Regions from separate parts of the Homo sapiens genome. Here regions 1, 3, 4, 5, 6 and 7 are each linked to region 2. Evidence: promoter capture Hi-C in 16 types of primary human blood cells and fetal thymus (Javierre and others, 2016). All regions are on one chromosome and are shown on one strand. The core of a region is centred on a gene start or on the middle of the fragment in contact, and the rest is flanking DNA. Distances in the headings are between cores, read along the strand shown. Region 1 overlaps NDUFAB1 (NADH:ubiquinone oxidoreductase subunit AB1). Region 2 holds the start of RBBP6 (RB binding protein 6, ubiquitin ligase). Region 3 overlaps ZKSCAN2-DT (ZKSCAN2 divergent transcript). Region 4 holds the start of PALB2 (partner and localizer of BRCA2). Region 5 has its middle 34 kb from the start of CHP2. Region 6 overlaps PALB2 (partner and localizer of BRCA2). Region 7 holds the start of EARS2 (glutamyl-tRNA synthetase 2, mitochondrial).

Region 1 (3,829 bases), core at 1,205-3,704, 950 kb before region 2:
ACGGGGTTTCACCATGTTAGTCAGGCTGGTCTCGAACCCCTGACCTCGTGATCCACCCACCTTGGCCTCCCAAAGTGCTGGGATTACAGGCGTGAGCCACTGCGCCTGGCCAAAGTGTTTACTATCACCCTATCACTCTAATTTAGACCTCAGGATCACCAGGAATGATTCTTCAAAAACCCAAATCAAAAAAAAAACTGCCTTACCTACACAACAGATTCAATTTTTTTTCGTTGTTAGATGGAGTTTCACCCTGTCATCCAGGCTGCAGTGTGCAGTGGCATGATCTCGGCTCACTGCACCCTCTCCCTCCCGGGTTCAAGCAATTCTCTGCCTCATCCTCCCGAGTGGCTGGGATTACAGGTGTCTGCCACCACGCCTGTCTAATTTGTGTATTTTTAGTAGAGATGGGGTTTCACCATCTTGGCCAGGCTGCTCTTCATTTCCTGACCTCATGATCCACTCGCCTCGGCCTCCCAAAGTGCTGGGATTACAGGCGTGAGCTACCACGCCCGGCCCCACTTGTGTTTTTATTATTTATTATTATTTTTGAGATGGAGTTTCACTCTTGTTGCCTAGGCTGGACTGCAATCACGCTATCTCGGCTCACTGCAACCTCCACCTCCCGGGTTCAAGTGATTCTGCTGCCTCAGCCTCCCGAGTAGCTGGGATTACAGGTATGTGCCACCATGCCCGGCTAATTTTGTATTTTTAGTAGAGATGAAGTTTCTACATGTTAGTCAGGCTGGTCTTGAATTCCCGACCTCAGGTGATCCGCCCGCCTCGGCCTCCCAAAGTGCTGGGATTACAGGCATGAGCCACAGTGCCCGGCCAGTTGTGTTTTTTAAAAAGGGTGAGAGATACATACATATAATATACACACGTGTGTATACTTCTTTAACATATGCATTGAGTACCTTTGGAAACATACATGAAACTGGTAGCGCTGGCTATCTCCCAGAATGGGCCTGGGTGTCTGGGAGCCAGGGAGATTTTTACTGAGTATCTTTCCCTTTGCATTTTCTAGCATGTAATTAAATACTCTATATTTAAAGAAAAAAATTCAAACCACCATCAGTTACCTTCTCTGGGTCAATCTTGTCATAGAGTTTCAATACGTAAAGAACACGGTCCTGGATGCCCTCTAACGTCAAAGGAGGCATGTCGCTATACTGGCGGCACAACTGTGTAACTCTACCAGGAACCTAGAGCGACGGCAGGAAGGAAACACTGTCATTGAATGGAAAATACCTCTAAATCAATGCACAAGCCTATAGGTAACTTTCACAGAACTTTCGGGGCTTTAGAGAACCCACAGCATCTGATTCTCATTGTGGCCACCAGGACACACTAAGTTGCAGGACTGGGTAATCGCAGAAGCCCCAACAGTTCAGCAGCATCTCAGGCCTCCTTCCTGGGAGTCAGGACCGGCCCCTCTGCCTCCTGGCTTCAACCCTCAGGCTCTGGACATTCATACTGCTCTGCGACACTAACTGCCACTAAAATTGTCTAGCGTCTGCAGAATGCCTGTGTCTTCTCATGGCATCTTCAGCATCCCGAGGCCTCTACAGGGTGCTGCCACCTTTAATAGGCTGACCCAAGTCAAAATAACCCAAAAGGAAAGAGCTGTCATGGTAAACCCAAAGGCAATTCAAATTGAGGACCATACACCAGAAAGGTCTAGTTTGGTTCCAGCAGTTATCTCCCTGATCTCAGCCAGGACAAAGGAAGCTGGCCTCCCACCCAAAGAGGGGATGAGGGAGCTTACAGTCACTACATTCCAATCTGTTTCCCTTCCAGCGAGGCTTGCCTCATGGCCACCAGCCAAACCATGAGCCCTTCTGGCCTGTGCCATGTTAGAGCAATACCTCACGTATCTCTGGTATTAGTCGGCTCAATGTTTAGGTATTAGGGTATTGACCAGATTTCATTCAACAAATGTGGAATGAGCTGCAATTACAGGTCAGGGGGTTTAATGCTGTGGAAGGTACGACGCAGAATCAGAGAAAACAAAACAGGGTATCTGGCAGTTTTGCTCACTACTGAAATCCCTAATCTGGCTAGTCGTGGTGGCTCACGCCTATAATCACAACACTTTGGGAGGCCACGGTGAGCAGATCACCTGAGGTCAGGAGTTCGAGACCAGCCTGGCCAACATGGTGAAACCCCGTCTCTACTAAAAATACAAAAATTAGCCAGGCGTGGTGGTGGGCGCCTGTAATCCCAGCTACTCAGGAGACTGAGGAAGGAGAATCGCTTGAATGTGGGAGGAGAGGTTGCAGTGAGCCGAGCCTGCGCCATTGCATTCCAGCCTGGGCGACAAAGCAAGACTCCGTCTCAAAAAAAAGAAAAAGAAAGAAATCCCTAATCTAAATTGGTTTGTTTACCTCCTGAAGTTGATTTTAAGTCCGAGGCTTGGCGTTCTTCAGGCATTTCCCTATAGAAAGTGGGGCTGCTTGTTAGGGCTCAGGTCCCTGAAACTCACAAAGGTCCATGAAAAATCATAATAAATACTGCCCAGAGAACCAAACCAGTATAACCTCTGTAGAAGAAACATTCATCTTGCATAAAGAACAGGTATTGGGCCGATGTGTGTCTCACACCTGTAATCCCAGCACTTTGGGAGGCCGAGGTGAGCCAATCACTTGAGGCCAGGAGTTCGAGACCAGCCTGGCCAACATGGTGAAGCCTCGTCTCTACTAAAAATACAAAAATTAGCTGGGCGTGGTGGTGTGTGCCTGTAATCCCAGCTATTCAGGTAGCTGAGGCATGAGAATTGCTTGAACCCAGACAGAGGTTGCAGTGAGCCGAGACTGTGCCACTGCACTCCACCTTGGGCCACAGAGCGAGACTCTGTCTCAAAAAAGAAAAGAAAAAGAAGTCAGTTATTAAAATCAGGTTTAGGCTGGGCGCAGTGGCTCACACCTGTAATTGCCACACTTTGGGAAGCCGAAGCAGGCGGATCACGAGGTCAGGAGTTCGACACTAGCCTGACCAACATGGAGAAACCCCGTCTCTACCAAAAATATAAGTTAGCTGGGCGTGGTAACATGTGCCTGTAATCCCATCTACTCAGGAGGCTGAAGCAGAAGAATCGCTTGAACTTGGGAGTCGGAGGTTGCAGTGAGCCAAGATCATGCCATTTACACTCCAGCATGGGTGACAGAGTGAGATTCCGTCTCAAGAAAAAAAAAAAAAAAATCAGGTTTAATCAGCAAACTAAAGAGATGAGTTGGAGAGTATGATAGATATTCTAACGAGCCTTTCTGAGTACTTTCAAGAGTTTTAGAGCATGTTTCTTTGTCTAAATGTCTAGTCTCCTTTCGTATTATACATGGGTTAAGGAGACCTTTTATACAGGCACATGACCGGCCTACTTAACAATGACTCAAATAGGTTTCCAAGTCACAAATAAAATGGAGAAGAAAGGAATAAAGAGAAAGGGGGAGAAGAAATGAGGTAATATGGCAATGGCAGAAAAGAAATTTCAGTTGGAGGGATCTAACAGAGGCTGTGTGCTTATCAAGAAATGGTACGAGGCCAGGTGTGGTGGCTCACGCCTGTAATCCCAGCACTTTGGGAGGCCAAGGTGGGCGGATCTCTTGAGGTCAGGAGTTTAAGACCAGCCTGCCCAACACAGTGAAACCTCCATCTCTACTGAAAGTCCAAAAATTAGCCGGGCATCGTGGCGTGTGCCTATAATCCCAGCTAATCAGGAGGCTGAAGTGGGAGGATCACTTGAACCTAGGAGGCAGAGGTTGCAGTGAACTGAGATCATGGCTCTACACTCCAGCCTGGGCGGCAGGGTGAGACTCTGTCTCCAAAAAGA
Region 2 (3,561 bases), core at 43-2,542:
TCGCCATCTTATTTTAAAAAGATGGCCTTAGGAAGGCTTTTCTGGCAGGATGGTGATTAATTTTAAATCAAGTTCAGTAAGAATTTGGAGTGTGCTTGCAGGAAGTCCCTGGGAAACTCTGCTACTTCTCGGCTATAGGATCTTATTCTCAGTTGCCTAAATTCACTGAGCCTAGCCTGTAAAATTCAGAGAGGATGAGGAACATGGATTGTAAACGATAATAACTATCGTTTATGAATGTAATTTTATTATATTATGATTTTTTCTGAATGTAATAACGTCCCCATGCCCAAAGGAAAAAAAAAATTCCAATCTACTGAGGGGGTTCTTGTCACTGTTCCTGGCATTTGCGCTTAGGAATGGAATCGGGACCCTGCCACTGAGCAGGCATCCCCTTCTGCAAATTCAGAAAGTACATGATTGCTAGCTTCAGTTCCATCATCTATAAATCGGAAATAATGTCATGTTGACCACGTAGGGTTTTTGTTGTTAAATTGACATTTATTGAGCTACAGCTATTAATATTTCGGTGCATTGAGCCACGTCAATGCACCGGCATGGTCTTAGACTATGGATTTATGTGCATTTATTTAATCCAAGTAAACCAAGTACTATTTTTAATGGCATTTTACAGCCAAGGAGACCCAGGCACAGAGGGGTTAAATCTAGAGCCCCCACAGCCAGGGATCCAACCCAGACAACGTGGCTGCTGAGCCTGGCAATGTTGTTATGCGATCAGCCCTGTGCCTAGCACATAGTAAGAGCTCAATAAATCTGTATGGTGCTGGTGGCTGTTATCAGTTCTTGGCAGCGGCTGCTCCACGATTTCCACTTGTCAAGAGTATAGGGTAGCCAGTTTATTGGAAGCAGCAGCTAGGGAGCGCTTGCATAGCAACCATAGTTTTCTGCGTAGCAACCATAATGCTCACTTAAATTGGGAGGCTTAGAGGAGCTGACGGGGCCTGTGGGGAAGGGGGAGTTAGCCGGCCACCCCTAGGCAAGCCACTTTGCAGTGGAAACTGCACGCAGCCCCTGCAAGGCGAGCTCTCCCCACCGAGCCTCCCTGTGAGCCGGTCCTCCTGACGCGCAACCCCCCTCCCTTTTGAAGCAGATGGTTCTTCCCGTTGTCCCTGCTCTTTCAGTTTCCGCGCTTTGGAGTCACAAAGCGCGGGGTCACGTGGGCGGGCCGTGCGCTTTGTGACGTCAGCCGCCCCGCCTCTCGGCCCGCCTATCCGCGCACGCCAGCCCCGCCTCGCGCGCGCCGCCCGTGCAATCCCTGCTTAAGAGACCCCGCAGTGGGGCGCTCGTCCGAAGCCAGGCCGCGTCCGCCATAGTACCTGGCTTGGAGGTGTCGCCGCCGCTCGGTGAGAGCCCCCGAGCGGCAGGGGGCCAACACAAAAAGGGAGCCGGAGAAGCCCTAGCCGCTGCCCAGCAGCTTGCGGGCGTGTTCTCGCGGTTCCGGGCCTCAAGGCGACGGAAACGAAAGGCGAGCGAAGCGCGGAGGATCCGGCGAGAAGAAGCGTCAGGGAGCCTCGGCGGTGTCCCCGGGGTCCGCCGAAGCCACCCGGCCGCCGGCTGGGGCCCGGGGTGGTGAGGAAGTGCTCCGAGGCCTCGCCGAGGCCTAGCGCCGGCTTTGTGTCCGAGGCGGCGGCGGCGGCGGGGGGAGGCGGAGCCGGGGGCGGCCTGCGGGAAGGCCTCTCCTCCGCCGACCGCGCGTTTTCGGCCTAGGCCGTGGGGCCGCTCGTGGCCTCCGGGGAGCAGGCGCCAGGGGTTTGTGTGCGGTGGGGGCCTGGGCCTGGGCCTGGGGAAGCTGACGCCGGTCGTCCGGAAGCCAGGAGGAGGCGTGAGGCCGCTCGTGGACTCCGGGCCTAGGCCCTCTCCCCTCAACCTTCTCCCGGGGCCTGGGTCACCCCAATCCACGGAGAGAGAGACCCGCCGGGAGGTGCGGCCGCGCTATGGACCCCTGACCCCGTGGGGTCGCTCGGACTCTTAACGTGTGGACTGACCGCTACTGACTGCACCGCCAATCCCCCCGTCTCTGCCGGCCCCTTAGCATGAGCGAGGGGGACCCAGCCGGGTGACATTGTGCCCGTTGGCGGATTCTCGATTTCCCCTCTTCCCCGTCCTCGTCCTCCTCCTCCCCCATGAAGTGATTCTGAGTATCGGGGGGTCTCTGGATTATTGTTCTGACGAACCCCTGCTTGTGGTTGGGGGGTATTTAATCTGAGGCCTTAGGGTCCTTCGGTGTCTTTGAGTGTTTTGTGTGTACATATTTTGCTCTTAAAGTTTATAAATATACGTATATTGAGAGTGTCCACGTCTCCTCGCTGAACCTTAGGAATCCCTTGGCACCATGTCCTGTGTGCATTATAAATTTTCCTCTAAACTCAACTATGATACCGTCACCTTTGATGGGCTCCACATCTCCCTCTGCGACTTAAAGAAGCAGATTATGGGGAGAGAGAAGCTGAAAGCTGCCGACTGCGACCTGCAGATCACCAATGCGCAGACGAAAGAAGGTAAGGGCCGCTTGGTCTTAAGATATTTGGTGGCTGGAGAGAGATACTAGCTAGAAGGTGCCTGGCAGGAAGCTAACCGCCATTATGTCTCTAGTGGGGACTGTTCGTTCTAGTACTTTGGATACAACTTTCATTGATAGCCAAGGTTTGCAGCAGTTGGCCTTGGAGTTTCACTGGTTTATTTTATTTCTGCATACTTGGGTCATCTGTAACAGGCTAACCCAAAACGTGGAAGCCTGATTATTCTTCTCGCTGTTTTTTAAAATGAGGGAGGGAGGAGAGGGGGATAGCTATCTAGACTCTTTGAGTGCTTGTCTTAGGGCGTTTTCTAACTTATTTTCCATCAGGAGGGCAGGAGAGCCTGTGCAAAGCTTGTTTGTTCAATCAGCAAAAAAAAAAACAAAAAAAAAACCAAAAAAACAATTTTCTAACCTAACAACATTGTGGAGTTTGATGGCAAATTTTATGTCCTGCCTTCCTCCCTCCTCGCATTTATTTATTTGGAGTTGCTTGCCTGTGTTGTGGATAAGGGATCTGAACTTTAATATTTTTGAGGATTTAATCAGTATTGGAATTGTTTTTGGATCTTGAAATGTTCTGATGTCACCGCTCTTGTCTTGTGTGTCAATTCCAGAATTAGTAATACGGCAATTAAGTAGTTAAACTGTTAGTTCATCACATTACTCTTAAGCTTTATCAATTCGGTGAAGATCAAAAGTACTGATTTTTTTTAAAGTAGTAGTTGCTAGATTTTACGTGACTGTTGATACTAAGGTACTGAAAAATAGGCTGCTACCATAGAGTACAAATAAGCCACTGATAAGAATCGTTAGATTCTTTCTCCTTTTCAAAAGTATTTTGATAATATTGGGAACTTAACAGTAGATAAATGTGACAAGCAGTCTTTCCTGACTCTGAACTTGTTTTGGTTTCTTTTTCTCAGATCAGTAATGCTGATGTGTATTTTTTAGCAGTTCGGTGTTCTAAAAGTTACTGATGGAATGAGAAGAAGTGAAGTTACAATTAGGTTAGGGTATTTTTT
Region 3 (3,527 bases), core at 750-3,249, 720 kb after region 2:
TTGAAGTCTTATGGTGGCTGCTCTTAGAGATAATAGATGACAAATGTTTCCTATTCAGATCTTCAAAAGGTGTTAGACTTTTAGTTAATCCGTTTAGGATTGGGAGGGCCTGGAAGAAAAACATCTAGCTATGTTAATAGATGTTCTTTACAGATGCACATTTTACCCCACAAAGGATAGCTTTTGGGGGAAAATGCTGTCCTTTATGGAAGAAATTGCAAAATAGGGCAAGGAAACATGTTTTGGGGTAAAATATTTTGACTTTCTTTTTGTCACGTAATGTTATGCCAGAGTCAGAATGGAAAGTAAGTCATCATATATAGGATTAAATAAAACCCATCTGATGAGAATTTATGGTTTGTAGGTCATGACTCCCCAGATCCCTTAGATAGGAATTTGGGCAGGATTAAAAAAATCAAGAGTTTAGGCTGGTCGTGGTGGCTCACGCCTATAATCCCAGCATTTTGGGAGGCCAAGGCAGGTGGATCGCTTGAGGTCAGAAGTTTAAGACCAGCCTGGCCAACATGGCGAAACCCCGTCTCTACTAAAAATACAAAAATTAGCTGGGCATGGTGGCACACGCCTGTGATTCTAGCTGATTGGGAGGCTGAGGCATGAGACTCAACTTGAACCCGGGAGGCGGAGGTTGCAATGAGCTGAGATTGTGCCACTGCACTCCAGCTTGGTTGACAAAGTGAGACTCTGTGTCAAAAACAAAACAAAACAGAAAAAAAAAACAAAAGAATCAGAGCTTAGTCGTCAGGTGTCCTTAATGAAGGGGCTGGGCATTAAGAGCAAGGCGAGGAGGCAGAAGGAAAGCTTGAGCCCAGGAATTGGAGACCAGCTTGGGCAACATGGTAAGACCCTGTCTCTAAAAAAAATAAAAATTAAGAACAAGAGGAGGAATATTCATGTTTTTTCTTGGGAAGGGAGGTAGATTTTCCTGGAATCAAGGAGCTGCCCCTTTTTTTGTCCTTTTTTTGGTCTCTTCGGGTCATCACGGTGATTGTCAACTGTCATGGCAACCAGTGGGAATGTCATTTAGTACTGAAGTTGGATTAGAATGAAGCTAGAGGTTCTTCAGAGGTCGAGTAAGCTAAGAAGGAACCTATGACCACAGACAACCTGTTTTCTAAAAATAAGCAGAGTTAAATCTGAGTAGGAATTTAGCTATGTCATGGAGGCATTGCATTGGGTAACAAAAGCCAGGTAGGCGTCCAGCTAAGTCCCCTAGGCCCTGCAACGGGTAACAGCAGTACTGACTCTATGTTAGAGAAAAGCTTGCTTGCTTGAGTATAATTATTGTTTTGCCTGAGTTTGTAAACTATTCACTAAAAACAGCCACAGAAAAAAACAGGACCTTCTTCAACAGATAAAACACACAGACCCGCAGCTTTGGGAACAGGCTGATGGCCCCTGCACAGTCTAGTCACAAGGCATTGACCAAGAAAGTAATGACTAACTGCCCATCTGAGACTGCGCATGATTCACAAGAATGTTTCTTTGTTTTGTTTTTTGAGACAGTCTTGGTCTGTCTCCCAGGCTGGAGTGCAGTGATGTTGGTTCGCTGTAGCCTCTGCCTCCTGAGTAGCTGGGACTACAGGCGTGTGCCACCGCACCTGGCTAATTTTTGTATTTTTAGTAGAGATGATGTTTGACTATGTTGGCCAGGATGGTCTCGAACTCCTGACCTCAAGTGATCCACCTGCCTCGGCCTCCCAAATTGCTGGGGTTACAAGTATGAGCCACCGCTCCTGGCCCACAAGAATGTTTTGATCATTATTTCTCCTAATTTTCCTTAAAATCCCTGGATCTAGAGGCACAACTGAGAAAGGTGGTCTTTGAATGCTAGTGCACTGCCTTTTGCAGGTTGCTGGTTTCTCGAATAAAGCTAACTTTGCTTTCACCAAAGCTTGTCTTTTGAGTTTTTGGCTTTCAGGCGACGAGTGGCCTGGACACCAGTTCGGCTACATGTATGTCAGTGGGCAAAACAAAAATCCTTATTCTGGGAGGTAGATAGCTTATTAGAAAACACAACCTAATCACTTGTTTCCCAAATGTTAAAAATTGAGCCAATTTTAGCCCCAGAAGCTTAGGGTACCATGTACATAACAGGCATTACCTGAGGGTGGGGCAGAGAGAATCAGTGGGGTACCTCGTATATGCCAGGGGTTGTATCAGCATCCTTACACAGCTCATTTTTCTTTTTAAATAATACTTATTGAGGACCTATTTAATGCCAGATATGGTGGTAGGTAGGGAGCAAAAGCAGGATTCCCCTCCCATTATTGAGTTTTCAGTCTGGTGGGAGAGGCAGGAATTAAATAAGTAATCCACAAACTCAAGTACAATTCTAAGGGAGATGGGTGCCACCAAGAAGAGACATGGTGCTGAGAACCTATGTCTGTCAGAGGGATTTGATCTATTTGGGAGGTCTGGAAAGGTTTTTTTGAAGAAGCAGTGCTAGGGGTGAGATCCAAAGGAGAAGAGCTAATTAGGCAAAGCCTAGTCCTCACAAAAATCCTATAAACCAGATATGATTACCTTCATTTTAGAGTTTAGGGCATTGAGACTTGAGCAAGGTGATGTCACTGCCCAAGGTTACATCAGATTAAATGGCAACCCAGGATTCAGATTCAAATAAGAGTAGGGTTCTTTATATTCTCCTTGGGCTATTTGGTGGTTTTAGGAGAGGCAAGTATCACAAACAGCTTGGGGACATGAGGGAGCAGGAATCACAAACTTGAAAGCCTGCAGAGCTCAGGCAGATAGCATAGAGTGAAGTAGGGCAGAGTGTAAGACAATAGGGGATGGTGGGGAGTGTGGTGAGCTGAAGGCCACATTTCCTGTCTAAAGGAAGCAGCCACTAGTTCCAGTCTCTTGTTGCCATGCAGGATTACAGACCAAGCCCTGCTGGATCTTCTGATGATATTATTTTGAGGGCTTGGCGCGGTGGCTCACGCCTGTAATTGCAGCACTTAGGGAGGCCGAGGTGGGCAGATCACAAGGTCAGGAGATCGAGACCATCCTGGCTAACATGGCGAAACCCTGTCTCTACTAAAAATACAAAAAATTAGCTGGGCGTGGTGGTGGGCGCCTGTAGTCCCAGCTACTCTGGAGGCTGAGGCAGGAGAATAGCGTGAACCCGGGAGGTGGAGCTTGCAGTGAGCCGAGATCGCGCTACTGCACTCTAGCCTGGGCAACAGAGCGAGACTCCTTCTCAAAAAACAGGCTAGAGTGCAGTGGTGCAATCATAGCCCACTGCAGCTGGGACTGCAGACACATGCCACTACCCGGCTAATTTTTATATATTTTTTTCAGAGACAGGGTCTCACTATGTTGCCCAGGCTGGTCTGAAACTCCTGAGCTCAAGTGATCAGCCTGCCTTGACCTCCCGAAGTGCTGGAATTACAGGCGTGAGCCCCTGCGCCCGGCCTAGATCTTCTGATTTCTAAAAAGAAGCTGGCAGTATTTTTAGGTGAAGTTATCACACTTCTAAATAATTGGCAGTTACATGAGTTTGCCTC
Region 4 (3,891 bases), core at 1,199-3,698, 900 kb before region 2:
ATCAGAGGGAACGGTACCCCAGGCAGAGGGAACCACAAATATAAAAGCTCTGCAGTGGAATAGGTTACCTACGTTTGAGGAACACGCAGAAGGCCAGTGAGGTTGGAGCTATCATTGCTCAATCTCCAGCCAGGCACACAGTAGGCATTTAACAAATATTTATTAAATAAATAAATGAATTGGGCTGAATCAAATTACTGTTCTCTGAAAGCCTAGATTCCCTCGTCTCTCTGGCTTCTTTGCTTCAAAGGATTCTCTCAGCAGCAAAGCCAGCCTCGGTTTTTCTGCTTTTTAGCAACTTTTTAGCTGTACTCATCTTTCAACCAACAAAACATCAAGATTTCCATCCTCCATACATGCCTTTTTTAAAAAAAAGAAAAGACCTACTCAGCTGGGCGCAGTGGCTCACGCCTGTAATCCCAACACTTGGGGAAGCTGAGGTGGGTGGATCATTTGAGGTCAAGAGTTCGAGACCCGCCTGGCCAACATGGTGAAATCCTGCTTCTACTAAAGATACAAAAATGAGCCGGGTGTGGTGGTGGGTGCCTGTAGGAGGCTGAAGCAGGAGAATTGCTTGAACCCGGAGGCGGAGGTTGCAGTGGGCCTAGATCACGCCACTGCACTCCAGCCTGGGCAACAGAGCGAGACTCTGCTTGAAAAAAAAAAAAAAAAAAAAGGCCGGGTGCAGTGGCTCACACCTGTAATCCCAGCACTTTGGAAGGCCAAGGCGGGCAGATTACCTGAGGTCAGGAGTTCAAAACCAGCCTGGCCAACATGGAGAAACCCTGTCTCTACTAAAAATACAAAAATTAGCCCGGCGTGGTGTTGGGCGTCTGTAATCCCAACTACTCGGGAGGCTGAGGCAGGAGAATCGCTTGAACCTGAGAGGCGGAGGTTGCAGTGAGCCAAGATCGAGCCACTGCACTCCAGCCTGGGAGATAGAGCGGAGAGTCTGTCTCAAAAACAAACAAAACAAAACCTATGTGCAAAACATGCTACTAGACAAGTTGCCAACCGTAAGGAATTTTCTTTTTTTTTGAGAGACAGTCTCACTCTGTCGTCCAGCCTGGCGTGCAGTGGCGCGATCTCGGCAGCTCCCTGCAACCTCAGCGTCCCCTGGTTCAAGCGATTCTCGTGCATCAGCCTCTGAGGCCTGAGCCTCTGGGACTACAGGCTGGCGTCACCACACCCGGCTAATTTTTGTATTTTTAGTAGAGACGGGGTTTCACTACGTTGCCTAGGCTGGTCTCAAACTCTGAGCTCAAGCGATCTGCCCATCTCGGCCTCCCAAAGTGCGGGGATTACAGGCGTGAGCCAGGGAGACTGGCCTCCCACCAATCTTATCAATGTCTGGGGATTATCTTGTTTACTTATAAATGATCTTTCTCACCTCCACCAGAAGGTAAGCCAGGATAAGAATAACATCAGCACAAGCTGGAAACATCCTAAAAGTCTATCAGTAAAGTACAGTCTAAAGAAGCAAGGGCACTTCCAAGGCCAGGTGCAGTGGCGGGTTCGTGTAATCCCAGCTACTCGGGAGGCTGAGGCAGGAGAGTCGCTTGATCCCAGGAAGCGGAGGTTGCAGTGAGCCGAGATCGCGCCACTGCACCCCAGCATGGGTGGCAGAGTGAGACTCTGTCTCAAAAAAGAAGAAAAACAGAAAAGGAAGAAAAAAGAAACAAAACGAGGGCACTTCCAAACTACAACATACTGTCTAGAACTTAAAAAAGAAAGCAAGGTAGATAAACATGTCCTGACAGGAAAGCTAAACGGAACCTGCAGAACCATTCAGATCATACCATTTATGAACATTCCCTTCTCCAAAAAATATACATAGGATTCCTTTTTGGTGGTTAGGGATACGCCCCTCCTCCACCACCCACATTAACACACGAAAGGACCTGGAAGTACCAGACTTAAAAGATTTACTTGAGGCCGTCCGGGGGGAGAAGTAAAGATTGAGGGTGTGGGAGGGGGGAGGAGCAAGGGTGTCGATACAGCTTTATCTACAAACTGTTACACATTGTATTAATGCGCTGCTACTGTAATGAAATTTGTTCTTTAAACGCCACCACGTGAGCACCACGCTATTTCCACATTTTCATTTTCTGTGCCCCCTCAGCCCTAAGAGGAGGGGGTGGTCAGATGATACTGCTGCCCTCGGACTGCCGAGGACACAAAGCCAGGCCTAAAACCCTGGGAAAGCGGGGTCAGAGTCCTGCGTCCGCCCTTCCCGCACCCCCGGCACCTTTTCCTTCTCCTCACAGCTGAGGGGCTTCCCGGGAGGCTCGTCCATCGGGCAGGCGACAGAACGAAAAGAGCAGCCGTCGCCGACCCCAGGCCTGCCGACACCGGGACCCAGTTGGCCCTGGGCCGGGGAGGCGCCCCAGGAAGGAATGGGGAGCCCGGGATCGCACCCTCAGTGCGCGATCAGCTGACCCACGCGGGCCAAGCGCGCCCTAAACTCCGGCCAATTAAATCCACCATTCGGCCTGCGCACGCGCAGCCGTAGACGGCCGAGCAGTGGAGCGAGGCCGCCTAAAGGAGAGCCGCGCTGTCGATGAGTCCCAGTGGGCCACCTGGAGCGGAAGTGGAGGAGCGGCCGGAAGTAGCCGGAATCTCTGAAAGACTGACCGACTGACTCTGACAGGATCCGGGGCTGAGGGAAGGAGGCGGCGGCCATGGAGTTGGGCGAGCTGCTCTACAACAAGTCTGAGTACATCGAGACGGTGCGCGGGTCCAGATATGTATCCTCCTCTTTCCAACCCTGCGTCCCTTTGAGGCCTGGTCGGCGTTCCCAACCTGCCCCTACCCCACCAACCCCTGTCCCTTTGGCCATTAGTCCCGGATTATCTAGCGATGCCCCGTGTACCGTCTGGCTTTGCTGTTTACTCCGCGCTTGGCCAGTTGAGGCCTTTTGTATTTATTCCTGATTTTCTCATAGGGGTAAAGTGCCTTCGGGAGGATAGGACAAGTCCCATCCTGTTCATACGAATTACAGCTCGGACTTCGGGCCCTTTTACACTGCCTTTTGTATCTGTTAACTTGCGCTAAAAACGATTCGGTTCTTTTTTTTTGAGGAAGGGGGTTGGGGGGCGGAGACTCTGTCGCCCAGTCCTGAGGGCCGCGGCGCGATCTCTGCTCACTGCAACCTCCGCCTCCCGGGTTCAAGCGATTCTCCTGCCTCAGCGTCTCGAGTAGCTGGGATTACAGGCGCCCGCCACCACGCCCGGCTAATTTTTGTATTTTTTGGTAGAGACGGGGTTTCACCGTGTTGGCCAGGCAGGTCCCTAACTCTTGACCTCAGGTGATCGACCCGCCTCGGCCTCCCAAAGTGCTGGCATTACAGGCGTGAGCCACCGCACCCTGCCGATTTGGTTCTTTATGATCAGTACATGATATGTTTGTAAAATCTTGGAAACAGGGCAAGTGGTCAATTAACGTTACTATCGTTATTTTGGTTTTCTTTGCTTTCTCACAACTCTGATACTCATAGTCATTATCCTCGTTTTAAGGCCGTAAAGCCCACGCGTGGAAGTGGGATTTGAATCCGCGTCTGTCTGATGCCACCAAGCTATAGACATTCAAATTATGAGTTTATTCCTTGAGTCCCTAGTTTCCTTTGTGTTTTTATTTTTTGAGACAGGTTCTCACTCTGTTGCCCAGGCTGGAGTGCAGTGGCACAATCACAGCTCATTGCAGCCTCGGCCTTCCAGGCTCAAGCGATCCTCTAGCCTCAGCCTTCTGAGGAGCTGGGACTACAGACACGCGCCACCATGCCCGGCTAATTAAAAAATTTTTTTTTTGTTGAGAAGGGGTCTCACTATGTTGCCTAGGCTGGTCTTGAGCTCCTGTCCTCAAGGGATCCGTCTGCCTCAGCCTCTCAAAGTG
Region 5 (3,900 bases), core at 1,277-3,776, 750 kb before region 2:
CAAAGGGCTGAAGGTGGATAGAAACTTCTCCATCAAGATATTACTCACAGGAAAACTGTGGTCCCGAGAGTACAGGAACACAAAAGTAGTTATCTGAAGAGCTGGGAGAATCTGTTTATTACACGCACTCCCTTCTTCCATTGACAGGAGGGAATCTCGATGAGCTGGGGGAAGAATAGAAACATGCAATAGGGTCTTGAGTACATACTCAAGAGAGAGGAGTGTGGGCATACCAAGGGAAGGAATATTCATGAAAATTCCTGGAAAAAGCTGGAGATTTCTCAGAATTATGGTGCCACCAATTTTTACATCAATATGGGTGCTCCTGGAACTGTCCTGGCACTGGTGGGTTTGTGATTAAGAATGTTAATGAGTATATAGGCTGGGTGCAGTGGCTCATTCTTGTAATCCCAGCACTTTGGGAGGCCGGGGCAGATCACCTGAGGTCAGGAGTTCAAGACCAGCCTGACCAACATGGTGAAACCCTGTCTCTACTAGAAATACAAAAATTAGCCAGGTGTGAATGTGGGCACCTGTAATCCCAGCTACTTGGGAGGCTGAGGCAGGAGAATTGCTTGAACCCAGGAAGCAGAGGCTGCAGTAAGCTGAGATCACGCCATTGCACTCCAGCCTGAGTGACAAGAGTGAAACTCCATCTCAAAACAACAACAAAACAAACAAACAAACAAAAACATAAGGTTCTAGGTGAAACCTAGGTCAAATCCAGTGCCAATTAAGTTCAATTGGTCTTAGCCAGCATGGTCCACACCCTGGTTTTTCAGGGTTTTATCAGACCCTAGCTTCTGCAGCTATTTCAACATCTGCCTTTTGCCTAGCCATGTGAAAGTGCTGCCTGGAATTTTCTGTTCTCCTGTGACCACCCTGTATTATTCCTGTCTCACTTTGATGAAAATTTCAAAGATCAGAACTCTGTCCAAGGGGCTGGAAAATTGGGGTGGGCACAACTTTTTTTTTTTTTTGGCTGGAAGGAACATTCTGGAGGATAAGGTGGGTCACAGGGGACCTATGAAGGGGAACTTCTTAGGCCTAATTCTGCTGTAGGCATTAAGGGAGTGCTCCTAGAGCAGTGCTTGACACAGGGTAAGAGCTCAATAAGACAATGGTTAAAAGCCCAGGTGTTAAAATAGATGGATTTAGGCTCAAGTTCCATCATTCTCAGAGATCTGCCCTTTCACCAAACTTCTAGGGTGATTCTTATGCACATTATTGTTTGAGAACTGCTGAGACAGACAGTACTATTTCTGATAATTAATGCTGGTCCTCTGGAGCTTGTATTTGGGGAGGAAGAAGGATGAATCCCACTGTGAGGTCCACTTCTGTGGTTAGAATGTGGCAAAAACTTGGTTTCCTCTTCCTCTTTCCCAATAAAACCTCCATTTATTTTTTGCTGTCTACTGTCCTCCACGTGGTCATGTTCTTTACAGGAAGCGGTCTCTGACCTCAAGAAGTTAATAGTAATTGGTCTAAACCAACCATGTTTTCCTATTTCCCTTGCTTAGTGATAGGCTCAGCATGGGCACATGAAATAATTCTGGTCAATGAGACACGAGTGGGGAGTGTATTGGAGTTTCTGGCAAAGGTCTTCCTTAATGATTGAAAGGAGATTGATTGAAAGAGGGAAGAAACAGCCCCTTTATGAAAGAGGGAAGAAACAGCCCCTTTACTGTCTCTGGTTATTTGAGAACATGCTGGCTGGAGCTTGGGCAGCCATCTTGTGCCCATGACGGGGGCTGATTTAGGTCAAGGATAACAGTGGAAATCCACAAAGAAGTGGGCCTTTACTAATGTAATTGAGCTGTCAAATCAATCAACCATGAAGCTTCCCCATTTTATTATGTGAGATAATAACATTTCTTCAGTGTGTAAGGTCAGATCAGTTGCAGGCTCTGTTTCTTGCTCTGAAAGTTTTCCAGAGAGGAGGGATGGAGATGTATACTGAGAAGGCCTGAAGAAGGAGGGACTGAATAGAGGGAGAAGCCTGAGAATGGCTAGGAACTGGAGTGCATCTTTAAGGAGAGGCCCTATGAGTGGCCCAGACTTTACTGCAGCACAGTGGCTAAAATCAAGGACTTTAGAATCAGAATGTCTTGGTTCAAATTCTACCTCCACCACTTACTAGTTATATCACCTTGGGTAAATTACTTAACCTCAGTTTCATTGTTTGTAAAACAGGATCATGGTGGTATTAACCTCACAGGGTTTAAGAAGGTGAGTAGGGCTGGGCACAGTGGCTCACCCCTGTAATCCTAGCAGTTTGGGAGGCCAAGGCAGGTGGATCACTTGAGCTCAGGAGTTTAAGACCAGCCTGGACAACATGGTGAAACCCCATCTCTGCAAAAAAATACAAAAAATTAGCCAGGCATGGTGGCACATGCCTATAGTCCCAGCTACTTGGGAGGCTGAGGTGGGAGGATGGCTTGAGCCCAGGAGGCGGAGGTTGCAGGGAACAGGGATCACACCACTGCACTCCAGCCTGGGTGACACAGCCAGACCCTGTCTCAAGAAAAAAATAAAAAATAAAAAAAGATTAGTTAATAATGTAAAGTACCTAGTGTAGTGTGATCTGAGAGACCTATGTGTAATGTGCTCAGAGACTGAAACAGACACCCCTTTATCAACTAAGACAAGCCCAAGGTTAAGGAAACAAAAGTTACCTACCTAAGGTCAAGGGTTCAGGTCCTGGCAGGCATGGCAAATTTCTAAATTCCTATAGCTATAAGAAAAACCAGCTGGGCGCTGTGGCTCATGCCTGTAATCCCAGCACTTTGGCATACCTAGGAGGGCAGATTGCTTGAGTCCAGGAGTTTGAGACCAGCCTCGGCAACATGGCAAAATCTCATTTCTACAAAAAATGCAAAAATTAGTTGGATGTGGGCATACCTGTATGCCCAGCTACTCAGGAGGCTGTGAGAGGATTGCTTAAGCCTGGGAGGTGGAGGCTGCAGTGAGCCATGATTGCACCACTGCTCTCCAGCCTGGGTGACAGAGCGAGACCCTGTCTCAAAAAAGAAAAAGAAAAAGAAAAAAGTAAAATCACAGCCTTGCTAAACTCCCTAACCATAGGAGCTATATCAGGTGAATTTACGGCCCAGACCGCTACAACTCTGGACAGGGACCAGCCTTATAAACATTGTTTTCTTATATGGAACTGCAGACCTTAAGCCAGTTTCAGCGGCTTATAGAGGCTGCACACAAGCTTTCTTTGTGTCCTGTAGGTCACCTTTTGACGTAACGAGTCAAATTCCACCTCATTTTAATGCTAAAACCTGCCCCGAAGTGAACATGGGATGTATGCTACGTCCCGTGTGTGTGTGATTAAGAATGTTAAAAAGCATATAGGCTGGGTGCAGTGCCTCATGCCACTGCAGATTCCCCTTCCTGCACTTTGCCTGAATAACCAGAATCTACCCGAGACACAGTAGGTGCTTAATGATTGCCCATGAAGCAAATGTGGGGCCCTATTTCTGCTGCCAATGTTTACCCATTGCTCATGCATTTGGCTCCTCTCATAAATATGTATAGCGTTCTCCCAAACCTGCTGAATATGCATGACTATTGTATAATAAGACCTTGTGTGACACAAAACCCAACCTGCCCTTTCTCTCTTCAAAGCTAAGTGTGGTGGCTTATGCCTGTAATCCCAGTACTTTGGGAGGCTGAGGTAGCCAGATTGCTTGAGCCCAGGAGTTTGAGACCAGCCTGGGCAACATGGTGAAACCTTGTCTCTGCAAAGAAAATACAAAAATTAGCCAGGTGTGGTGGGGGCATGCCTGTAGCTCACTGTAGCCTCGAATTCCTGGACTCAAGTGATCCTCCTGCCTCAGCCTCCTGAGTAGCTAGGACTGTGATGTGTGCTACCATACTTGACTATTTTTTTTT
Region 6 (3,688 bases), core at 1-2,500, 920 kb before region 2:
AGCATGTCTTAGGAGGTGACCAGGGAAAAAACTAAGAGCTCCTTAGTTTTCTTTAGTCATAGATTTAGGTAAAAGTAGAACTGTGGGTTAATTTTGCCAATAGTTTCATTTGATAGTTCAGCCTTAGATTAAATCTACAATGCCCCTAGGGATAAATCTCTCCAAATTCCATGAGGAAGGTTCCATCATCTCATTCAACCTGGTATTGAAATCAGGCACATGGTATAGCAGTATCATGATTTTGTGACACTTCTTGTTATGTCTAAATTTTCCATGGAAGACAACGGCCAGGAAACCAAATTTTGTAGGGCAAGAGACTACACCTAAAAGAGAGTTACAATTATATCTCTATTACATGTATTTATACTACAACTAGACCAAAATAATGGATAGAAGGAAGGATTGAAGTGGGGTAGGAAGAGAGGGGTGAATATAAAGAAGAAAAAAGATAAAGTTTGTTGGAATCACTTCCCAGCTTTTTTTTTTTTTTTTTTTTTTTGAGACGGAGTCTCGCTCTGTGGCCCAGGCTGGAGTGCAGTGGCGGGATCTCGGCTCACTGCAAGCTCCGCCTCCCGGGTTCACGCCATTCTCCTGCCTCAGCCTCCCGAGTAGCTGGGACTACAGGCGCCCGCCACTACGCCCGGCTAATTTTTTGTATTTTTAGTAGAGACGGGGTTTCACCGTTTTAGCCGGGATGGTCTTGATCTCCTGACCTCGTGATCCGCCCGCCTCGGCCTCCCAAAGTGCTGGGATTACAGGCGTGAGCCACCGCGCCTGGCCTTTTTTTTTTTTTTTTTTGAGATGGAGTCTCGCTCTGTCACCCAGGCTGAGTGCAGTGGTGCCATCTTGGCTCACTGCAATCTGCACCTCCCAGGTTCCAGCAATTCTTCCACCTCAGCCTTCCAAGTAGCTGGGATTACAGGCACCCACCACCATGCCTGGCTAATTTCTGTATTTTTAGTAGAGGCAGGGTTTCACCAGGTTGGCCAGGCTGGTCTTGAACTCCTGACCGTAGGTGATCCACCTGCCTCGGCCTCCCAAAGTGCTGGGATTACAGGCACGAGCCACTGCACCTGACCTGCTCCCCAGCTTTATTGAGGATTTGTGACATTGATAACTGCTTTGTCATGATACTCTATTTTTTTGTTTTTGGAGCTTAGGGTCTCGCTCCATTGCCCAAGCTGGAGTGTGGTGGCGTGATCATGACTCACCGTAGCCTTGACCTCTGAGGCTCAAGCGATCCTCCCACCTCACTGCCCCAAGTAGTTGGGACTACAGCTGCATGCCACCATGCCTGAATAATTTTTTAATTTTTTGTAGAGACAGGGTTTCACTATATTGCCCAGGCTGGTCTTGAACTCCTGGGCTCAAGCAATCCTCCCACCTCAGCCTCCCAAAGTGCTGGGATTACAGGTGTGAGAGACTGCACCTGGTTCATGTTACTCTGTTGATGAAAAACTTTCAGTTGGCTCCCATTAGCCACAACATAAAGTCCAAGTTCTTTTTTTTTTTGAGATGGAGTTTTGTTCTTGTTGCCTAGGCTGGAGTGCAATGGCACAGCCTCGGCTCACTGCAACCTCTGCCTCCCAGGTTCAAGCAATTCTCCTGCCTCAGCCTCCTGAGTAGCAGGGATTACAGGCAGGCGCCACCACACCCAGCTAATTTTTGTATTTTTAGTAGACACGGGGTACACCATGTCGGCCAGGCTGGTCTCAAACTCCTGACCTCAGGTGATCTACCCGCCTTGGCCTCCCAAAGTGCTGGAATTACAGGCGTGAGCCACCGCGCCCGGTGGTATTTATAACTCTCATGAATCCAGCAGTGCAATATTTACATTATCACTCATTGCTCCATTTCCTGAAATCTTTCTGCCTGAAGAACATATGCATTTCCTTGACTCTAGACTTTGCTCAAGCTATGCTTTCCAATGACCCCTGCTCCCCCAACTCCCTGCCACCCATTACAGAAGAGTTCCCATCCCTGTTACTGACGAATTCCCATCCATTTCTTAGGGCCTAGTTATATCCCACCCCCTCCAAGCTGCATGAACTCACTTGAGACTACAGCAGTCCACAGTCATCTCCTCTCCTTTAATTTTGTCCATATACCTCATTTGGTATGCAATATACTACTGGCAATACTGTATCATGTATTCACTCAACAAATACAGAATTCTATGGGCCAGATACTGTGTATAAAAAACTGAAGAAGGAAAATTAAATTTTTATGTGCATATGCAAAGTTTTCCTCCTATCAGGGACACCAGATGGGTGTCCTACAGAGTTTCATACATGGTCTGTATTTAGTAATTGTTCTTTCCTCAAATCCCAAATCACTTTGACCTTATGTGAATTGTAAAAAGGATTGTACTGAAATTGTAGGCTTTGATGGTAAAGGCATCTTATTTACCTACTAGATTATAGGGGCCCTGGGACCAGGATTCATATCTGATTCATCTCTGCATCTCTCACAGAGAATGGGACATAAGTAGAGACCCAGATACCTACTGAATGTTTGGAAGATATTAAATGAAATGTCTCAGTGAATATGGACAGCAAGACTTCCTTACACACTGGCCCCTCAGTGTTTAAGAATGTTTTAACGTGTTTCTTTGATATGACTTCATTGTAAACATTAAGCTTAAGAAATTTTTTTTTTTTTTTGAGACGGAGTCTCATTGTCGCCCAGGCTGGAGTGCAGTGGCGTGATCTCCGCTCACTGCAAGCTCCACCTCCCGGGTTCATGCCATTCTCCTGCCTCAGCCTCCCGAGTAGCTGGGACTACAGGCACCCACCACCACGCCTGGCGAATTTTTTGTATTTTTAGTAGAGACGGGGTTTTACCGTGTTAGCCAGGATGGACTCCATCTCCTGACCTCATCGTGATCTGCCCACCTCGGCCTCCCAAAGTGCTGGGATTACAGGCGTGAGCCACCGTGCCCGGCCAAGCTTAAGAAATATTTAGACCTTCAGCATAGTTTCCAAAAAAAGCCACTTGACACTTGAGTATAACATGAATCACTTGAGACATCTAACAAATCAGGAGTTAAATAAGAACAAATACTACATGTAAGTATAAAATTATACAGAGCCCAAAAGATAAGTAACAGCTTTTGACAGACAATATGATTAATACACCTTTGAGTAACTACCCTAAACATGGAGCTAAGGCAGGCACCAAGAATAGATATGAGACATGGTACCTGTCTTCAAAAACGAGAGAGGATAAATAACACAAAGCAGCAAATACTAAATTAAAAATCAAGGCAGGCCAGGTGCGGCAGCTTATGTCTACAATCCCAGCACTTTGGGAGGCTGAGGCGGGAGGATCACTTGCATTGAGGAGTTCACGACCAGTCTAGGCAACATGGGAAGACCCTGTCTCTACAAAAAAAAATTAAAAAAAAAAAAATTTTTTTTTTTTTAATTAGTCAAGGCTGGTGGCATGCATCTGTAGTCCTGCTACTCAGGAGGCTGAGGTGGGAGGACTGCTTGAGCCTGAGAGGTTGAGACTTCAGTGAGCCATAGTCATGCCACTGTACTCCAGCATGGGCAACAGACTGAGACCCTCTCTCAAAAAAGCAAAAACAAAAAAACAACCAAGGCAGTATGAATTCGGAGAAGGAAACATCAATGAAGGCTGGAATAGTACAACAGAACTCAAGGTAACTGTGGGGGTGAAAATATCC
Region 7 (3,713 bases), core at 620-3,119, 980 kb before region 2:
AACCCTGTCTCAAAATAACAATAATAATTTGCACATCTAGTAAGTTACACATCTAATAAGTGGCCACGACAGAAATTTGGACCCAGGCAATCCCAGGCTTTGGCATTCTACATAAGTGCTCTTCAAAGCAAAGTGTGCAATCCAGTGCTGGTCTGAAAACAGTTGTCAGTTCACAATCAAGTACAGAAACTGAGAGTAAAGGTTTAGAAACTTTTGTTGTTGTTTTGAGATGGAGTCTCACTCTGTCACCCGGGCTGCAGTGCGGTGGCACGATCTCGGCTCACTGCAACCTCTTTCTCCTGGGTTCAAACGATTTTCAGCCTCCTGAGTAGCTGGGATTACAGGCCTGGGCCACATGCCCGGCTAATTTTTGTATTTTAGTAGAGACAAGGTTTTGCCATATTGGCCAGGCGAAACTTACATAGCAATCTGGCAGAATGATTTTACCTCTGCTAACCCAAATAAAATGAGATTGGTTTGTATTTTGGATGTTTTCAAAATTTTATTTTTCTGGTCATTATATTAATTTTGTGCAAATATTGATACACAATTGATTGGAAATTTAAAACCAGCACTTCCACAACAGATGGTTTGAAAGGCACTGCTCTAGGCTATACTGCCTGCCAGAAAGATCCTGTCATGTATAGCTGGGATTTTACTACAAAGATCTTTGTATGTTCATCCTGGGATTTGGGATGAGAGGCATACTCCGTGTAGAGAACGTAGAAGGTAGCCTTACTGGTGGGAACCAAAAGGCCCTGACGAGATCTCCAACAGGCTATACAATGGGCCTCTGTCACCCTCTAGCTTGCTAAGCTCCCAACAGCACTAGCACAGTGCCTTGGTACCTGCGATTTCCTCTACCCAGAAGGTTCCTTCTTTTTTGTTTTTGAGACACAGTTTCGCTCTTGTTGCCCAGGCTGGAGTGCAATGGCGCGATCTTGGCTCACCGCAATCTCCACCTCCTGCGTTCAAGCGATTCTCCTGCCTCAGCCTCCCAAGTAGCTGGGATTACAGGCATGCGCCACCATGCCCAGATAATTTTGTATTTTTAGTAGAGACAGGGCTTCACCATGTTGGTCAGACGGCTCTCAAGTGATCCACTTGACCTCAAGTGATGCACCCACCTCTGCCTCCCAAAGTGCTGGGATTACAAGCGTGAGCCACCGCGCCTGGCCTCCAGAAGGTTCCTTCTATAGGCTTCACATAGCGTGCTCCTTCTTGTCATTTGGATCTCAGCTCAAATGTTACCTGCTCAGTAAAGCCTTCTGGAGCGTCCTTCTTAATCCCCAGTCTCCTATCCTGTTTCACTTCCCGCATGGCACATGTGACTCTAAAATTACACTTATTTTTTATAAGTGTCTGCGGCAGCCACTAGAATGCAGACTTCCACAGAGCAAGGCCCCTACCTTTCTCAATGATCACTGTATCCCAGCGTCTACAACACCTGTTACACAGGTTGTCATCAATGCACATGTATGGAATGCATGAAAAAAAGATCGAAAGAGATGGGATGGCACAAAAAACACAAGAAACTCCTGGCAATTTGAATTATTTCCGCTCCTGCACCTCAGTTTCCGCCTCTGTAAAATGGGCTCGCGCTGCCTTAACCCTCCTCCGCCCGCCCACTCTGACACCACCGGAAAGGATTCATTCGGGAACATTCGTGGGGCGGAGACGGGACAGGGGGCCTCGGCCTGTAGCGTCACGTCCGCCAGGGTTACCTGTGGGGCTGGGAGCGAACCGCACTCGCACCGCAACCCCGGCATCAGTGCCCAGGTTGGCCTCGCGCCGTCCTACGGGGCGGCCAGAGGCCGCCGAAGGCCTCTCGCGCTGCAGCAGTCTCCTCAGGAGCGCCGCCATGTGGGATGGAATAGCACACGTGGGCTTCTCCCTGCGTCACTTCCGGGGACTGCTTCCAGCCAATCGGCCTCCGCCACAGCCAGCGCAGCCTTGCCCCTTAAAGTCACAGGCCCCCTAGCGCGAAATCCCACGCCCCCCTGGACGGCTGCGGCCGCACTCGCCACCAGGGGGCAGAGGCCAGAGAAAGGGCTATTTCCCGGACCCGCCCCCTTCAGCTTGGGAAAGCGAAAGCGTGGCAGGGGCCGGACCTGGGAGCGGAGGAGGCGGGTCTCCATAGAAACCTCCACCTGTTTCCGGCCGGGCTGTGAGAGATTAGGGGCTGCTGCGGGGGCCAATCTCAGCCAGCTCGCCTCTTCCCAGCGGCCTCTGCGGGAGCGGTGGGTGTTGTACACAATCATCATGGCGGCGGCCGGGGCCCCGGATGGTGAGTGCGGCGGGGGTGGCGGGCGCCGGGCCGGGGCTGAGGTTGCGGTCGCTCCTCTGGGGGATGCGGCCCGGCCCGGGAGGGAGAACCGCGGCTCGGGAACGGAGGTCCGGCGGCGCCCGGACAGCGTCCGTTCCCAAGCCCAGCCCGCGGCGAGCGCCCACCCCCTAACCCCCTTGCAGGCATGGAGGAACCTGGCATGGACACGGAGGCCGAGACTGTGGCTACTGAGGCTCCCGCGCGGCCCGTCAACTGCCTGGAGGCTGAAGCCGCGGCGGGGGCGGCGGCCGAGGACTCCGGCGCCGCACGAGGCAGCCTGCAGCCGGCCCCGGCCCAGCCCCCTGGGGACCCCGCAGCCCAGGCCTCGGTCAGCAACGGCGAAGACGCGGGCGGCGGCGCGGGCAGGGAGCTGGTGGACTTGAAGATCATCTGGAATAAGACCAAGCATGACGTGAAGTTCCCCCTGGACAGCACAGGCTCCGAGCTGAAACAGAAGATCCACTCGATTACAGGTAATTCCTGTGGCGCTGACAGCCAGTCTTCCCCACCCCGCCTCCTGATGGCCCTTGCACCCTACTAGGCACCTGGTGGCTTTCCTTGCATCAGGTCCCCCCATCCTTACAGCAGTCTTCTGAAGGATACTTGGATGCCCATTACTCAGCTGGGGAAAGAGACTCAAGTTTATAGAGCTAGTAAGTTGCAGAGCTGGGATTAAAGCCGAAGTCTGACGTTTAGGCCCCAGTTTCTCATTGATGTTGCTCTAACATCTCTAATTAAAAAATCACCTAAGGCGCTTGTTTTACAGCTTCTGGGCCCTTTCCCAGGAGATTCTGATTCAGTGGGTCTGGGATGTAGCCAGGAATTTATTTTTAGCAAATATCTTAGGTAATTCTTCTAAGTGAAGTTTAGGAAACGCTGCTATTGACTTTGATGCTGGTTCTTCACAGTCGATTCTGTTTCTTAATTTTACCTTGTTCATAGCTCTTTGCCATCTGAGATTTCTTTTCTTTTTCCTATTTTTTTTTTTTTTTGAGACGGAGTCTTGCTCTGTTGCCCAGGCTGGAGTGTACTGGCACCATCTTGGCTCACTGCAGCCTCCGCCTCCCAGGTTCAAGCGATTCTCCTGCCTCAGCCTCCCGAGTAGCTGGGATTACAGGTGCCCGCTACCCCGCCGGGCTAGTTTTTTTTATTTTATCCACCCACCTCGGCCTCCCGAAGTGCTGGGATTACAGGCATAAGCCATCACTCCTGGCCTTGAACTTTTTTTTTTTTTTAAAGCTTTCTACATGTAGCCTTGTAATCTCCATTAAGAACAGGAGTTTTGTCCCTATTGGCTTCTGTAGCTCTGATGCCTGTGGATTCTCACTTAATATGTGAATGATTTAGATGACTGAGGAACAACTTGGAAAGAATGAGAGCTAGTACT

Evidence for each region. Contacts are between HindIII fragments. The CHiCAGO score rates a contact against its expected background, and 5 or more counts as called.
Region 1: a fragment that was not itself captured here is called in contact with the fragment with the promoter of RBBP6 in region 2 in 1 of 17 cell types (neutrophils); the score reaches 5.8 in neutrophils.
Region 3: a contact is called between a fragment that was not itself captured here and the fragment with the promoter of RBBP6 in region 2, in 4 of 17 cell types (activated CD4 T cells, total CD8 T cells, fetal thymus and 1 more). The highest score is 7.4, in activated CD4 T cells.
Region 4: a contact is called between the fragment with the promoter of PALB2 here and the fragment with the promoter of RBBP6 in region 2, in 1 of 17 cell types (neutrophils). The highest score is 6.3, in neutrophils.
Region 5: a contact is called between a fragment that was not itself captured here and the fragment with the promoter of RBBP6 in region 2, in 1 of 17 cell types (M1 macrophages). The highest score is 5.7, in M1 macrophages.
Region 6: a contact is called between a fragment that was not itself captured here and the fragment with the promoter of RBBP6 in region 2, in 1 of 17 cell types (neutrophils). The highest score is 5.8, in neutrophils.
Region 7: the fragment with the promoter of EARS2 here is called in contact with the fragment with the promoter of RBBP6 in region 2 in 3 of 17 cell types (M0 macrophages, fetal thymus and neutrophils); the score reaches 6.0 in M0 macrophages.

Annotation. Positions count from the first base shown.
Region 1 is chr16:23,586,115-23,589,943 of GRCh38, forward strand. NDUFAB1 (NADH:ubiquinone oxidoreductase subunit AB1) reads right to left here. Exons shown (of 5, transcript NM_005003.3): 2 at 1,083-1,205. Among named protein-coding and RNA genes, the nearest start is that of NDUFAB1, 8.3 kb to the right of the region's middle. The HindIII fragment of the contact is 6,808 bases long and covers 1-3,829 here.
Region 2 is chr16:24,538,274-24,541,834 of GRCh38, forward strand. It overlaps RBBP6 (RB binding protein 6, ubiquitin ligase), which reads left to right and starts at 1,293. Exons shown (of 18, transcript NM_006910.5): 1 at 1,293-2,519. The coding sequence starts at 2,354. RefSeq lists enhancers at 956-1,950, 1,951-2,943 and silencers at 1,240-1,289, 1,560-1,739. The HindIII fragment of the contact is 3,955 bases long and covers 1-2,888 here.
Region 3 is chr16:25,259,156-25,262,682 of GRCh38, forward strand. It overlaps ZKSCAN2-DT (ZKSCAN2 divergent transcript), which reads left to right. Exons shown (of 1, transcript NR_170220.1): 1 at 1-1,911. Among named protein-coding and RNA genes, the nearest start is that of ZKSCAN2, 3.1 kb to the left of the region's middle. The HindIII fragment of the contact is 179 bases long and covers 1,911-2,089 here.
Region 4 is chr16:23,638,862-23,642,752 of GRCh38, forward strand. It overlaps PALB2 (partner and localizer of BRCA2), which reads right to left and starts at 2,449. Exons shown (of 13, transcript NM_024675.4): 1 at 2,249-2,449. The coding sequence starts at 2,296. DCTN5 (dynactin subunit 5) reads left to right here and starts at 2,605. Exons shown (of 6, transcript NM_032486.4): 1 at 2,605-2,729. The coding sequence starts at 2,682. RefSeq lists a silencer at 1,516-1,750 and an enhancer at 2,878-3,667. The HindIII fragment of the contact is 17,437 bases long and covers 1-3,891 here.
Region 5 is chr16:23,787,431-23,791,330 of GRCh38, forward strand. No RefSeq gene overlaps it. Among named protein-coding and RNA genes, the nearest start is that of CHP2, 34 kb to the left of the region's middle. RefSeq lists an enhancer at 1-461. The HindIII fragment of the contact is 1,377 bases long and covers 1,839-3,215 here.
Region 6 is chr16:23,614,170-23,617,857 of GRCh38, forward strand. All of the region lies in intron 10 of PALB2 (partner and localizer of BRCA2), which reads right to left. Among named protein-coding and RNA genes, the nearest start is that of NDUFAB1, 20 kb to the left of the region's middle. The HindIII fragment of the contact is 2,773 bases long and covers 1-2,637 here.
Region 7 is chr16:23,555,481-23,559,193 of GRCh38, forward strand. It overlaps EARS2 (glutamyl-tRNA synthetase 2, mitochondrial), which reads right to left and starts at 1,870. Exons shown (of 9, transcript NM_001083614.2): 1 at 1,725-1,870. The coding sequence starts at 1,863. It overlaps UBFD1 (ubiquitin family domain containing 1), which reads left to right and starts at 2,247. Exons shown (of 7, transcript NM_019116.3): 1 at 2,247-2,287; 2 at 2,470-2,799. The coding sequence starts at 2,263. RefSeq lists enhancers at 555-1,199, 1,560-1,839, 1,844-2,488, 2,030-2,229, 2,489-3,132 and silencers at 2,300-2,389, 2,490-2,669. The HindIII fragment of the contact is 14,256 bases long and covers 1-3,563 here.